Regions from separate parts of the Homo sapiens genome. Here region 2 is linked to region 1. Evidence: promoter capture Hi-C in human tissues and cell types (Jung and others, 2019). All regions are on one chromosome and are shown on one strand. The core of a region is centred on a gene start or on the middle of the fragment in contact, and the rest is flanking DNA. Distances in the headings are between cores, read along the strand shown.

Region 1 (6,788 bases), core at 4,005-6,504:
AAGTATCAAAAGCAGTATTTCCAATACAATTACATGTCTAATTGCATCTTGGTATTTCTGTGATTTACTCTGTACAACAAAAGCAGACTAAAGAATTTAAGTGAAACAATCTTATTACTTTAGCTTAAAGAAGACTTTTTTTCTCTTAATTGGAAAAAGTTTGTACTCAACTCTAAGAATACCATGTGCAAATAATACTGGAAAAAATATACTATAGTAAATGGTAAAGAAATATTAGGCACAAAATTGGGCAACATTTTGAGAAATTTAATATTTCCACAAGTATAAACACAATGGCAGCATATACTACATGCATATGAAATTTAGATGTATTCTTACTGTATAATTTAAAATTAATAACTTATCAACCCTGTAACAGTACCAAAACTGTCAAATACAAAATTGTGTTCCTGCTATGACTGCAACTACCTGCAAAATTATGTGGATATTAACTAGTACAAAAAGGAAATCCAAGAGAAAAAAATAGTTTTTAAAAATGTTGCAGCTATAAATTCAGTTTCAATGATAATGTTTGTACAATAAATAACACTATAAAAGTGGAGTACAATATGCTCCCTTTCATTCTGTATTCTTCCCCCACACTATCATTGGTCTTGCTTTTTTGCAATGGCCATGATATCAGAAGAACTAATGAAATTATATACTTCTGCTTTATTGACATTAAATATACAAGTAATTGACAACCTACAATCATGTTCTAAATACTTGGTAAATCTCCCTTTTCGGAATTTAAAACACATTTTTCTCATATAAACAATGTTAAAAATGATAGTCAAGTTCCCAAGTTAACATGCAAAAGCCTCTTTCACCCAGATCACTGCCAGAGTAATCCTGAGGCTCTCCCTCCCCAAGTGCCTTGGAGTCCCAAGCCCTGTAGGTAAGAACAGAAGTAAAGGCCTACCCAAGACCATGGTGAGAGGGTTGTAGTCCTAGGACACATGGGTATGGGAGCACAGCTGGAAAGACACCAATGCAGTGAATAGGAGCTGGGCATGCTCCAGGACCAGGAGCTAAGAGTGATAACCTTTCATATAGCCAAGTCAATCCTAGTTCCAGGTTGCCTGGCTTTCTGAAGACATGGATGTTCTTTGTTTTGATGCCTTCTGTACTCATTTCTATGTGTTATAACTTTCCATTTAAAAGCCTTAAATAGACATGCGTATGAGTCAGATTTCTAAATAAGATCCCAAATAAAATATCTGAAACAAAAGACTTATTTATTTTCATTTAGAAAACTTCCATGGTGCCCACCAGATGAAGGAATGAGATGCCAGGAAAACTTAAGAGTTGTTGGCTTGGGAGAAAATGAGAGTCATAACCTTGATCTTTTGTTAAACATGATATAAAGTTGTATAAAATTTTGTTGCTAATATAGTTTTGAAATTTCCTTGGTAGTATTTTTTTTAACAAAATGCTAACTGAAAGCTTCATCTCAGTTTTCTCAGATCCACAGCTTTCTCTATATAGTATGAGGAAACAGTAGGGTGTGTATTATTTGCAAATAAACTTCAACAATTAGTTGGCCAATCAATTCCTTCCTAATAGAAACATAAATGTCATTTCTCACTAATTAAATACAACTTGTGCCTGTTGAAAAAAAAAACTTAATTTCAGCACAGGATGTGGTGTGTATATAAAAAAACAGAACTAAAACGAGATCACATCTGGATATTTACAAAAAAAAGAACGCCTTTTCAAAATTTGTATTCAATCTCTAATATGTCCAGTTTTTATACGTTTTTTTTTCTTTTTTTTTTCTTTTTTTTTCTGTCGCCAGGCTGGAGTGCAGTGGCGTGATCTCAGCTCAATGCAATCTCTGCCTCCTGGGTTCAAGTGTTTCTCCTGCCTCAGCCTCCTAAGTAGCTGGGACTACAGGCACGCACCACCACGCCCAGCTACTTTTTGTATTTTTGGCAGAGACGGGGTTTCACCATGTTGGCCAAGATGGTCTCGATCTCTTGACCTTGTGATCTGCCTGCCTCGGCCTCCCAAAGTGCTGGGATTACAGGCATGAGCCACTGCACCCGGCCTAAAAGTCTTAAACCTCTAAATATTTGTTTCTAATCTGGCTCTTCAAAATAAATTTTATCTGAAAACAAAACAAAACAAAACAAAAAAAACACAACACTACATAAAATCCCTAACAGCTTGGAAATCTACTTTCATAAAATAATACTAAACTATTAACAAGTAGAAGGAATAAAGGAATTTCAAAATTAATGAAGGAAATGAAGAGCTTTCTCAGCCGTTAATAACATGTAGAGCCAGAGTGGGGGGATGAGGGTGAGAAATATGGAATAACGATGTATAATATTTTAAATAATGTTTTACTATCTATAAAACACTTCACATAGGAATTGGGGGAGGAAACTACACCAAGAGATATCATTTTATTATGAGAAGCGAATATCCTCACATCCTGTTAAAATTCCTCAATGCAATTCCTATATTGATAAGATAAAATCTAAACTCCTTTGCAAGGCATACAATGCTTTTTATGATATGATTCCTGTCTACATTGTCAAGCTCCTTTCCAGTCTCTTCCCTCTACCTAACTTCACTTTCTGGCCTGAGGACCACAAATTCTCTCATTGCTCCAAGCTTTTCCATGTAGAGTTCCTTGGCTTGGGCAAAAGTCCACTAATCCTTCATGTCTCAGTGCAAATACGACCTTCTCTGTGAATCCTTCCTTCACTTCCCCATATAGAGCCTGGCTCCCAGTCTTGCCAACATCTCTGCTTATACTATGTACTCACTCCACCAATTCTGTTTTAATTGTTTAAATGCCTAGTGTTTCTACTCATTAGAAAATAAAGACCATGTTTTTTCTGCTTTGTGTCTCCAGTGCCAAGCACAAAACCTCATCCACAGTAAAATGAAAAGAGTAGGTGGTCTCCTAAGAGTACTGTGGGAATTTAAGGATTTATAGTCTTTCTCTGGAAAATCTAAAGCAACCTTTCAGCAGAATTATGGGCAAGTTGGAAACCTCAGCGAGTACATGCAGAATATAACTACAACTTTGTAAGAGTAAAAATAAAAAACCTCATGCTTAAGATTGGAAGCACCAAAATATTAACAGTAATGTTGTTAGAGTGGTGAGAAGCCATGTGTAATTTTCTGCCCCACCCCCCTCATTTTACCTCTGTTTTAAAAAAAGTCTTAAATGCTCAACTTAACCTAATACTATTTTCCAATGGCCGTGGCCCCCTATAAAAATTAATGCCAACACCCTAAGCTTCCAAAATTATCAAACAGAAATGATGAGAACCTAGCATCATGCCATTCCAAGCATGGAGGAAAATGAGAACCTAGCCCCTTGTTGCCCCAAGGGTAGGAGAAAGAAAAGACGCAGGATGTTTATACTTCCAATTCCAATATATTGGCTTTTATGATTATTCTTACTATACATTTCTGATTTTTTTTTTGAGATGGAGTCTTGCTCTGTCACCCAGGCTGGAGTGCAGTGGTGCAATCTCAGCTCACTGTAACCTCCAACGATTCGTTCAAGCGATTCTCATGCCTCAGCCTCCCGCGTAACTGGGACTACAGGCGGATACCACCACTCCTGGCTAATTTTTGTATGTTTAATAGAGATGGGGTTTCACTATGTTGCCCAGGCTGGTTTTGAACTCCTGACCTCAGGTGATCCACCCACCTCAGCCTCACAAAGTGCTAGGATTACAGGCGTGAGCCACTGCACACAGCCCATTTCTAATCTGTTTTGATCCTGTCTTTCAAGATCCAAAAAGAGACTACTTCCATCCAACATTAATCAATTAGCACTCATATAATGCTAGACTCTAAAGGGTATATGCTAGGTAAAATAAGACATGGTCTCTATCTCCAGGCAATTTATATATTTCTGTGGCAGAGGAGTAAACTACCTAGATAAAACACCAACAGTATATATAATTGGGGGAAATTATGTGGTATAGACAATAATCTTATTAGCCGAACTGACATATGAATACCATTAGTACCCGATAAACATGGTATTCTCAGAAAGTATTTTTAGAATGGAAGATGACTTATTACGGCTGGGAATTATAAAGTGTCATGTTAATCAATAAAGATATTTTTTAAATCTTAAGCCTTGTTAAGTTTGGTTTTAGGTATGACAGAAACTGGAGCAATAAACTCAGATTTTAAACCACTGCTTTTCTAAGGGGAAAAACTATGAAACAAATTATACCTGAGATTTTTGCCGCTGGGCTTCTGCTGGAAAGAGCTCCATCCAGAGGCTGAGCAGAGTGAAAAGGTTGACTTTAGAAAGCCTTGGTATCTGACCTACAAAAGAGACGACAAACACTTTAAACTTTGTTACTAATGGTGAAAAAGGGAGCCAATCTCAATGCCACTTAGGTGCTGCAGCCTAAGCCCAGCTGCTTTCGCAAGAGGCACAGAAAAAGATAGGGGACAAGAGAGTCAGAGGTATCTTAGCAGTAGACGCTTCAGCCTTAGTCGTGGCTACCTCCTTCTCCACTTAAAAAGTTGAGCCTTCTTTCTCCAGCCCTCACCCTGCAGGAAAAAACGGTACAGCTAATACACATAGCTGAGGGGGACAACCCAAAGCAAGCTGTGAAAAGTCTTCGCATCTGACGTCGTCGTGGTGCAAGCTTTTCTTTGGACTGTGATGGGGCGTTGCTAAAAGGAAAGCGATTAGAACACAACCCGAAAAATGCGCTGACCTTCGACGGTAAAGCAGTCGAAATACAGGAAAGCGTCACGTGCGGTTAATTTGGAAATCAAGGCAAAAGCGCCGTTTGGAAATGTTCAGGCTCTTTGACCTCAGAGGCCCCAGCTCTAGGTCCTGTGAGAAGTAGCTAACAGGGGTAAAAAGCGAGACTTCAAAAGCCAGTGCGACCGAGCCGATTGGTCCTGGCGACCGCGGAGGGGACACGCAGAGGGCGGGCAGGAGACATCCAAAAGCAGCAGGGGAGGCAAAGAGGCTCAGACAAGGAATCTGGAGTTCAATGACGGGAGACGCACAGGGCAGAGCGAAAGGTAGGGTGGCGGGAGCAGGGTCCCGGACACTCACCGGTCATGCTGCCAGTCTGGGTGCTGACTGACCGCCCGGCCCTCGCGCTCTCCAGATTTTGCATCTGCCCAGCTTCTTTCATCCCAAACCTAGCGTCCTCTGCTGCCAAGGAAACCTCTCCCAGTCAGACATGATCTCGGCCCTAGCGCCCCCGCCTCTCGCCTCCTCTCAGCAACTGTAAGGCAACGGCCCACTAGGCGCAGCCAGATGACGCCTCAAGCTTGACCGCCACTTCAGGGCTCCTCGTGTGACGTCATAGAGAGGCGGGGCTTTGGCGCCAGAGGGCTGCCCCTCGGCCGGTGACCGAGTTAAGCACCGAGCTGTAAATCGCTTGAGACCTGTATTTGGTTGTTTTGTTGGTTTTGCCAAGTAAGGTCACTTGAGGATTTCTTGGCTCGAGGTCCCAGGTTGCGCAGACTCTGACTGCATCGAGTTGAGAATTTTGGTCAGAATGTTAAAGTGGAAACCTACCCCAGGCTGTCATGGTCAGTGTTTTAGAGAACTTCTTGGGTTGGGGTGTGGAGCTGGGCGGTCCAGGATGTTCTGTCATCAGAGACTGGCGGGTTCTGGGGAACTTGGTGCCATGGAACACAGTAGGGACGTTCTGCTTCTCATCAAGAACATGAAGACATTAAGAGGTGGAATTGTAATGGGGAAAAAGGTGAGAGGAGGCAGTAGGAGTTATTTTGTTTTTAATTTCTAATGTCTAGTTTATTTCCACAAAACATCTGTATCATACCAGTTCTTTGAAATTTGTTCAGACTTGTTTTATGACCTAGATCAGCACTGTCCAGTAGGATTTCCTGTAGTATTCTATATCTGCACTGTCCAATATGGTAGCCACCAGCCACATGTGGCTATTGAGCATCTGAAATGTGGCCAGTACAACCAAGGAACTGCATTTTTAACTTCATTTAGTTTTAATTAATTTACATTTTAAGTAGTGACATGTGGCTATTGGCTACTACTGTATTGGACAACATTACTCTAGACTCTCCTCCTGGAATTCCTATTAGGCATAGGTTAAACCTTCTGAGGTTCTAAATTATTATTTTTAAAATATTGCATCATTTTGTTTCTCTGAGCCACATTCTGGCTAATTTCTTCAGATCTATCTTTCAGCTTGCTATTTATTTCTTTGGCTTGTAGAATTTTTTCTAGTTCGCCTGTTCTGAGGGTAAAGCTCTTCAGGTGATTTGACTATATCCAGAGAACTCCATTCTGCACCTTTCCTGAAGTGTAGACTTTGTTGACAGTGCCTTCATGGCAATTAACACTAAGGTTTAAAGACAGGCCATGGACTAGGAGAAAATATTTGCAAAGCATGTATCCAACAAAGGACTCATATCCAGAATATATAAAGAACCATATAAACTCAGAGTAAGTAAACAGTCCAGTTAGAAAATGGATCAAAGACTTGAATAGTCATTTCACCAAAGAAGATATACAGATGGCAAATAAACATGTAAAACAGTGTTCAGTGTCATTGGCCATTAGGGAAATGTATATTAAAACCACAATGAGATTCTACTACACACCTATTTAAATGGCTAAAATAACAAGTACTGACAGCACTAAATGCTAGTGAGGATGCAGAGCAACCGGATCTCTCAAACATTGCTGGTAGGACTATAAAATGGCATAACCACTCTAGAAAACAGTTTGACAGTTTCTTATAAAGTTGCACATATGCTTATCATATCACCCAGCAATCACACTCCTGGGTATT
Region 2 (6,902 bases), core at 3,291-5,790, 44 kb after region 1:
TATGTGTATATGTGTACACTTGTTATATGCCATATATGTATGTGTATACCCTTATACACATACATATAGTTCAAAGGTTCACAAAACAGAAGCCAAATAGGTTTGAAATTCAATTTACTTTTATGATTACTTTCTAAAAAGTATTTAAAAGCACTCAATTCTTTTCCATGTTCTCAAGACCTGAAGAGGTACTTTTTGAGTAAACATCAAAATATTTTTAGGCCAAGTAAACTGTCTGTTCTTTAAGTACTTATCTGTGAATTCATGAATATATATTTATAATGAAGAACTCCACATTTATCAAAGAAGCTTTTCTTCATGCATACTCTTTCATCCAGTTTTTGTTTCTAAGCCCCTCCAGTTACTCATCATAATCCCACTTACCAAATAATTAAGACAAATGAGGAGGTAGAAATATAGCACTAGATTGCTTTCACAGCATCAGACTTTAACATTTTATATAGCATGTTAGTGTAAATTCTATTCATTCTGAATTTTTCACTTGGTAATAATCTTTAAAACAAACAGATCAGGTTATCACTGTTACACTCATGCCGATTCGTCAAAATATCCATTCTAAATTGTTGCCTCTTAGAAAGTTTTTCTATAAGAAGGCATTTGTTAAAAAAAGAGAGAGGGAAAGAAAAAAAGAAGACCCACCCTAACAAAAAAAACAAAATTGATATTTTTGTGGCTTGCATTCTAATAAAGTGCCAGCCTCTACCTAACAATATAAGCACTGAAAATGGCAAAAATGATGTGCTATAGTCTCAATGCCAGTGCTAAATGCCACTGTTTTTTATAAAAGCAATACAGAAATAATTTTAGTACATGACAAAATAAAATGTAATAGAGTTAAAAAATAAAGTTATATTTTCACTTGATTACAAAGTACTGAATGATAAAGGCAATCAAAATGGAAAAGAAAGCAAACAGCACAAGGATGACGGCAGCACACTGCTCGTCACTCAGTGCCCGTCGGGTCCTTGTGCTTTCCACAGTGTCTCTGTTGGTGCTGGCTGGTGGTTCAGTCCTCTGAGAGATGAAGAGCACTGTGGTGCTGTAGGGACCTACGAGGTCCTGGTGTCCCAGAGAGTCTTGGCACTGGCGAATGGCACATACACGGAAGCGATATTCACAGTTCAGCTGAAGGCTGGAATACCGGAAGGAAGAGTCGGGACCCTTGTAAATCTGTTAATAAAATATTAGAAGGAAGAATTACGTGTGAAGGCTGGACAGAAAATGTGTTAAAACTGGCTAGTGTTAGAATTGTTTTTCATGTGAAAGCCAGTGAATGCCATTGATTTTATCTTTTAAATGACATGTTAAAAATACCTGTCCATTAAAGTACTTATCTGTTTGTTGCATAGGGGCAAGAGAAATTTCAAAAGCGAGGATCTACCCTTATACGGTTCACAGATGAATTAAGGAGTGCAGATGTGCCCCAGGGCAGCTAGAGAACAAGCAAAATCGGTCCTCAAGCATTTTCTTGCTTTTCTCAAATGTAAGAAGTCATTTTTCAATGCAATCATTCCATCAAAGAAGGGATAGTGTCTACTTTTGCTTCCCCCATTATGTCTTTGTATAACTGATAAATTTCCATATAATTTCAAACATATCTGTACAATGAAATGGAAAATGAATAAGGGGAGCTTTCTATAGGTGCCTATGGCAAATCACTGTATAAACCAGAGAGGGGAGATCACTTAGAATCAGAAAATAGGACCTCCTCTGCCATGCCTCACAAGGGAAATAAAAAGAATGAAATTCCACGGATTTTCAGAGGAATGTGCTAGTAATTAACCCATTTATGCCAGAGGTTGCAAATTTTTTTTTTGTGAAAAATCAGACCTTGGCAATAACCTTGATCAGTGAGATATAAATAACTACCACAAGCTTAGTGTTCCAATAATGGAACACTAGGCATAAATAAGAAGCTATATACTAGAACTGTTCACCCCTGGCATCCAAGGTCTGCTCTACCACTTCACACTCCAGATGTGATTTTAGACCAACTACCTTAGTATAACAGACATACTAGTAGTTAACATGTATGATAATTATGAGGATGAAATGAACTAATGCTTGTTAAAGCACTTAGCGCAGTGCTCAGCATGCAGTCACTGCTCAATCTGTAGGAGCTATCATTTCCAATAATGAGCAACCTCCCACCACTCATTCTGTAATTGAGAAAACCAAGGTTCATAGGGTTAAATGACTTGTCAGTTGAGTTTCTCCAGTTAGTTGGTGGGCTACAAGTCAGAAGAACCAACACATGGGGGCTTTCAAGTACTTTTAGCTGCCTCAATTGTACCTGTGATGTAAATCTAAATTTTTACATATTGCTTTGCTCTCAAAGTAAAGTAAGATCTCTGTCTCATTTTTCTGTCTCCAGAATCTAGCATATAGTAGGTACTTAATAAAAGGACATTAAATTAGTGAATTATTGGCAATAAATAAAAATGTGGATGCTGATAACAATATATAAAGGAACTTACTGAAAGAAGCTTTAAGATAAATCTGAAAGAAAATGGTGACTATACATTAGTTCTAAGGATGCATAATGTTTCAGGGAATAGAATGTAGAAATGATCCATGTTTGGGAGATGGTACAGGTTGGGTATCCCTTATAAGAAATGCTTGGAACCAGAAGCATTTCAATTTTTTTGATTTTGGAATAGTTGCATATTTACTAGTTGAGCATTCCAAACCCAAAAATCTGAAATTGGAAATGCTCCAATGAGCATTTCCTTTGAGTGTCATATCGATCCTCAAAAAGTTTCAGATTTTGGGTGGAACATTTTGAATTTTGGACTTTATTTGGGATGCTTCAACCTGTAAAAGGATTCACTTAAAACAGAATGTTGTATGATAAAGTAGTGTAAAATTGTATACATAACACTGAAGTAAATTGAGTAAAAATTAAAAATATGTATTTGTCTTATGGATATAATAGATGATTTTTGTCTTTATACTTTCCATGTGTCTTCATATACCATTCCATGAGCCTGGCAGTATTAGGTTAAGAAAGAAAAACCTCAACAAATGGCATGAGGGTGATAAGAGATCTGGTACAAAGAGGAAGAATACATTAATTACACTAGTTGGAAATTTAGGTTAATTCAAAAGGGACCACTGTAGGTGTGTGACATTAAAACAGTGTTTATGGAATCCTAATCGTGAGGCTGTGTGAAGGACTGAAGGGAGCTGAGTAGGACAGGGACTCTTGATGTACATGTAAAAAGTGATGAGGCCCTGATGTAGTTTTATGGATTTAGAAACAAATTCTGATTAAGAGTTGATAGGAAAAAAAAATTCATCTAAGAATTTAAAGCTTGGAGACCAAGATGATATTGGTGTCTATGACACTGATGAAGTAAAGATGTTGGAGAGGAGATACTGGGAGGGAAGATGATGGGATCAAGTTTTCAATTTTGTATTTCAGATGTGGGAAGACCTCTAAGCAGGAAGAGACACAGGTAACTGTAAATACAGGACTGAAGAAAACAGATTAACCTGCTCAAGCTAATTTCAGAAGGTTTATACACCCAAGAAAAGTCATTCAAACAAGCCTTAAGGTTATTCATATACTACTCAAATGTGGAATCCCTATTTCCTTTAAACGTGTAATACAATTATATTTTCTTTAATATTAATTTTGCTTCCTCCTTAGAAGGAAACCTACTTATCTGTAAATTACATTTCAAATCTAATTATCCTGTCAATTTGCAGATGGCTTAATAAAGAAAAACAATTGCATGCCAGATTTAATCTGACTCTTTGGATCTTTTGTAATTTCAGTTAAGATATTACATAGAGTGGTTACAATAGCACAATACTGGAATAAAACAAATGAAGGATCTTTTTTTTAGTGGAAGAGGAAAATATAAGACACAATGAAAACAACCCAGCTTAAAAGCCCTCAAAATTAAGGTTACAGGAAAAAGGGAAAATCAGGTGAAATGTATAGGTATTTAATTAGTCTTTGGAGTGGTATAAAAGCTTATTCTTTTTAAAAGTTGTAACAAACATTGGCAACACTCCACTCTATCTCACTGCTATTCTTGCTTTATCAGAAAGCTATCTTTGAAACCTCTTGGCTAGGAAGGTGACAATTCCTCTAGGTTTCCATTATAACTTCATGCCTAATGTCATATTTACAGCACTGCATTATGACTATTATTAATACTATTATTGTAAAAGCCTCCTTATTAGTCTTTCTAGTTCTGCCCTTGTCCTACTGTAGTTTCAACACTATAGTCAAAACAACGTTGTGTCTGATCACGTGAATACCCTGGTCAAAATCCTCCACTGTCTTCTCATTTCACGTGGAGTAAAAGCCACAGTATGGCCTATTATGCCTTACGTCACTCCATACCACCTATAGGCCCCTTAGGATTAACTATCCGACCTTATCAACTCTTCCCTTTGCTCTCTCCATCCAGTCATATTGGCTCCTTTATGTTCATCAGATTTAATAGGCATGTTCCTGCCTCAGCGTATCTTCTTGGAACACTCTTCTCTCCATAGTCATCTCCTCTGGGCCATGCTGAAATGTCAGCTGAGTGCCCCAAATGAAATAACACTCAGTGCCCTCCCCCTCCACTCCCTATTTCTTTTATCCAATTTTGTTTTTTCTCCATTACACTTATATCTGACAATATATTGTCATGTTTACTTGCTTATAGTGTCTTCTTTTCCACCAGAATGTAAGTAAGCTCCATGGAGGCAAGGGACTTTTTGTTCAGTGCTATATCCTGAGTGCCTGGCACAGAATTCAATGAATACTTATCAGATAAATGAATAATCTGTTCAAGTGTAGTTCATACTGAAAAGATTTGGAATCTTGAGATCTCTGGAACATAATATATACTGAATAAATATTTATGAATTAAAAGGTAAAGATGGCCAAATCTTACACTGAAAATACATAAAAATTAAAAAAGGGTAAAAATATGCATCCACACATTAATATCTTGGTACATACCTGTTTGAATTCTGAATCTTTTCCCAACATAACTTGAAGACTGTAAATAACTGGATCACCTTTCATTGGCTGTAAACACTCCCATGTAATTTCACAAATGTGATCATTTACTTTCTCTATTTTGGGGGCTGTAGGAAACAAATATAAATAATATCTGTTCCACTTGATTTTTAATTTGGTACATCATGCAGACACTTGTCTTAATAAAAATCAACAAATATTTAAAATCCACTTATAAACTTGAAATAAGTATCAGTGAATTTTTGAAATTTGCATCCAAAGAGGTTAAAATCAGCACTCTTGTATTCTAAGATATGGGATCTCACTCTGTCACCCAGCCTGGACAACAGTGGTGCGATCATAGCTCAATGCAGCCTCAGCCTCCTGTGCAGCTACACACACAGGCATATGCTGCCATGCCCAGCTGATTCAAAATTTCTTTTGTAGAGAGGCAGGTCTCAGTATGTTGCCCACGTTGGTCTCAATACTCCTGGCCTTAAGTGAGCCTCCCACTTCAGTCTCCCAAAGCACTGGGCTTATAGGTGTGAGCCACTGTGCCCTGCTTATAGTCAGCACTCTTCTTAAAGCTAAGAGACACTAAACTTGATGAGCAAACAGAAAAATGACTCAGTGAAACTCAATATTATTAGAAAGACTAGTCAAGAAGAGTTCTGCTGTTTAACAAATGATAGGTTTAAGTACATGATCTAGGATATGGTTCTAGAAGTCTCTGTGATTAGTCTTCAGAGCAATTAACTTTATAGACTTTTCAGCTAAAAATAGAGTGTAGCCCTTGCCAGAGTCACTTTAAAATAAGAACCCCTCTAAAATTAAAAGATAAATGTATATACAAATGTGTGTAAATATGTGTACATGTGTGTGTAAAACTAATTGAAAAACCCACATTAATGAAGAATTTGTTTTGCTTAACAGATGACCAAGCTTTCCTTCTGAAATCCAAATGAATGTAATATCAATAACTCAAAACGTTTAAACAACCAGAGTTTGTGATTTTTTTCTTTAAGCAAATGACCTCATTAGAAAACCAGCCTTCCTATTCAATTTAGTATTTTTATGCTACATTATTAAAAACATCAGTGACAAAAGCCAGTACTTGTCTGAATATGAGCGTGCCAGATAAAACAGCTTTTATTATTGAGTGGAACTCTCAGTAGAGTTGGGCTTGCCTATACGATTTTGTATAACTGGTGGACATATACTGGATGCTAAATTTTAATATCAGTAAACAAAGCATTTATGAAAATACATTAAAAAGTAATTTATTATAAAGAAAATAAGTTCAGGATGTATAACTTACCTTTCAAGGCAGCTGGGACAGATTTTGGAGTAGTGAAAATATATTCTTGGGAGAGGGGACCTTCCCCAGCTTCATTACAAGCTTGAATACAGAATTTATAGGATGTTGACTCATTAAGTCTTTGTACTTTGTATGTATGACATGGTCCTCTGTATAGGGATACAAACCTAAAATGGAAATAACTATTAGATAAACCTTATACTACCTTATGATACCTTATTAAAGTGTTTTACAAACTAGTATAAAAACACAGTTATGAACATTATTTAGGAGTGATAAGTTACCCCAAAAGTTTGATGCCAGGAACTCTATGTCACTTAAAATAAATCTGTTTTTCATCAGATTAAGAAAAATAGGATATTTGGTAAATTTCCCAATTTGACATGATTTACCAAAAGTCTGTTACTAAATTTCATGTCCGACCATAACTGTTTCTTCTCAGGCTTCCGGTTTAGCTTTGTTTCTGAATACTGTTTTGTTAATGTACATTTTAAAAGATGCTCAGAACATCACAATTTTCATTACAAATTATTTCTAACTAAAGTCATATTGATAAAATTTGCCAAGTATGGCATAGAGACCTGAGCTATGAGATTA

What was found. Contacts are between HindIII fragments. The study calls those that stand out against the background at their distance.
Region 2: a fragment that was not itself captured here is called in contact with the fragment with the promoter of CDADC1 in region 1 in 2 of the 25 tissues and cell types used here (mesenchymal stem cells and spleen).

What each region holds. Positions count from the first base shown.
Region 1 is chr13:49,246,391-49,253,178 of GRCh38, reverse strand. It overlaps CDADC1 (cytidine and dCMP deaminase domain containing 1), which reads right to left and starts at 5,254. Exons shown (of 10, transcript NM_030911.4): 1 at 5,060-5,254; 2 at 4,214-4,308. The coding sequence starts at 5,141. It overlaps LOC105370203 (a long non-coding RNA gene), which reads left to right and starts at 5,339. Exons shown (of 2, transcript NR_135318.1): 1 at 5,339-5,544. RefSeq lists enhancers at 5,132-5,361, 4,831-5,393. The HindIII fragment of the contact is 6,098 bases long and covers 3,948-6,788 here.
Region 2 is chr13:49,201,370-49,208,271 of GRCh38, reverse strand. FNDC3A (fibronectin type III domain containing 3A) reads right to left here. Exons shown (of 26, transcript NM_001079673.2): 24 at 6,306-6,472; 25 at 4,988-5,115; 26 at 1-1,191. The coding sequence ends at 877. Among named protein-coding and RNA genes, the nearest start is that of MLNR, 16 kb to the left of the region's middle. The HindIII fragment of the contact is 3,237 bases long and covers 2,922-6,158 here.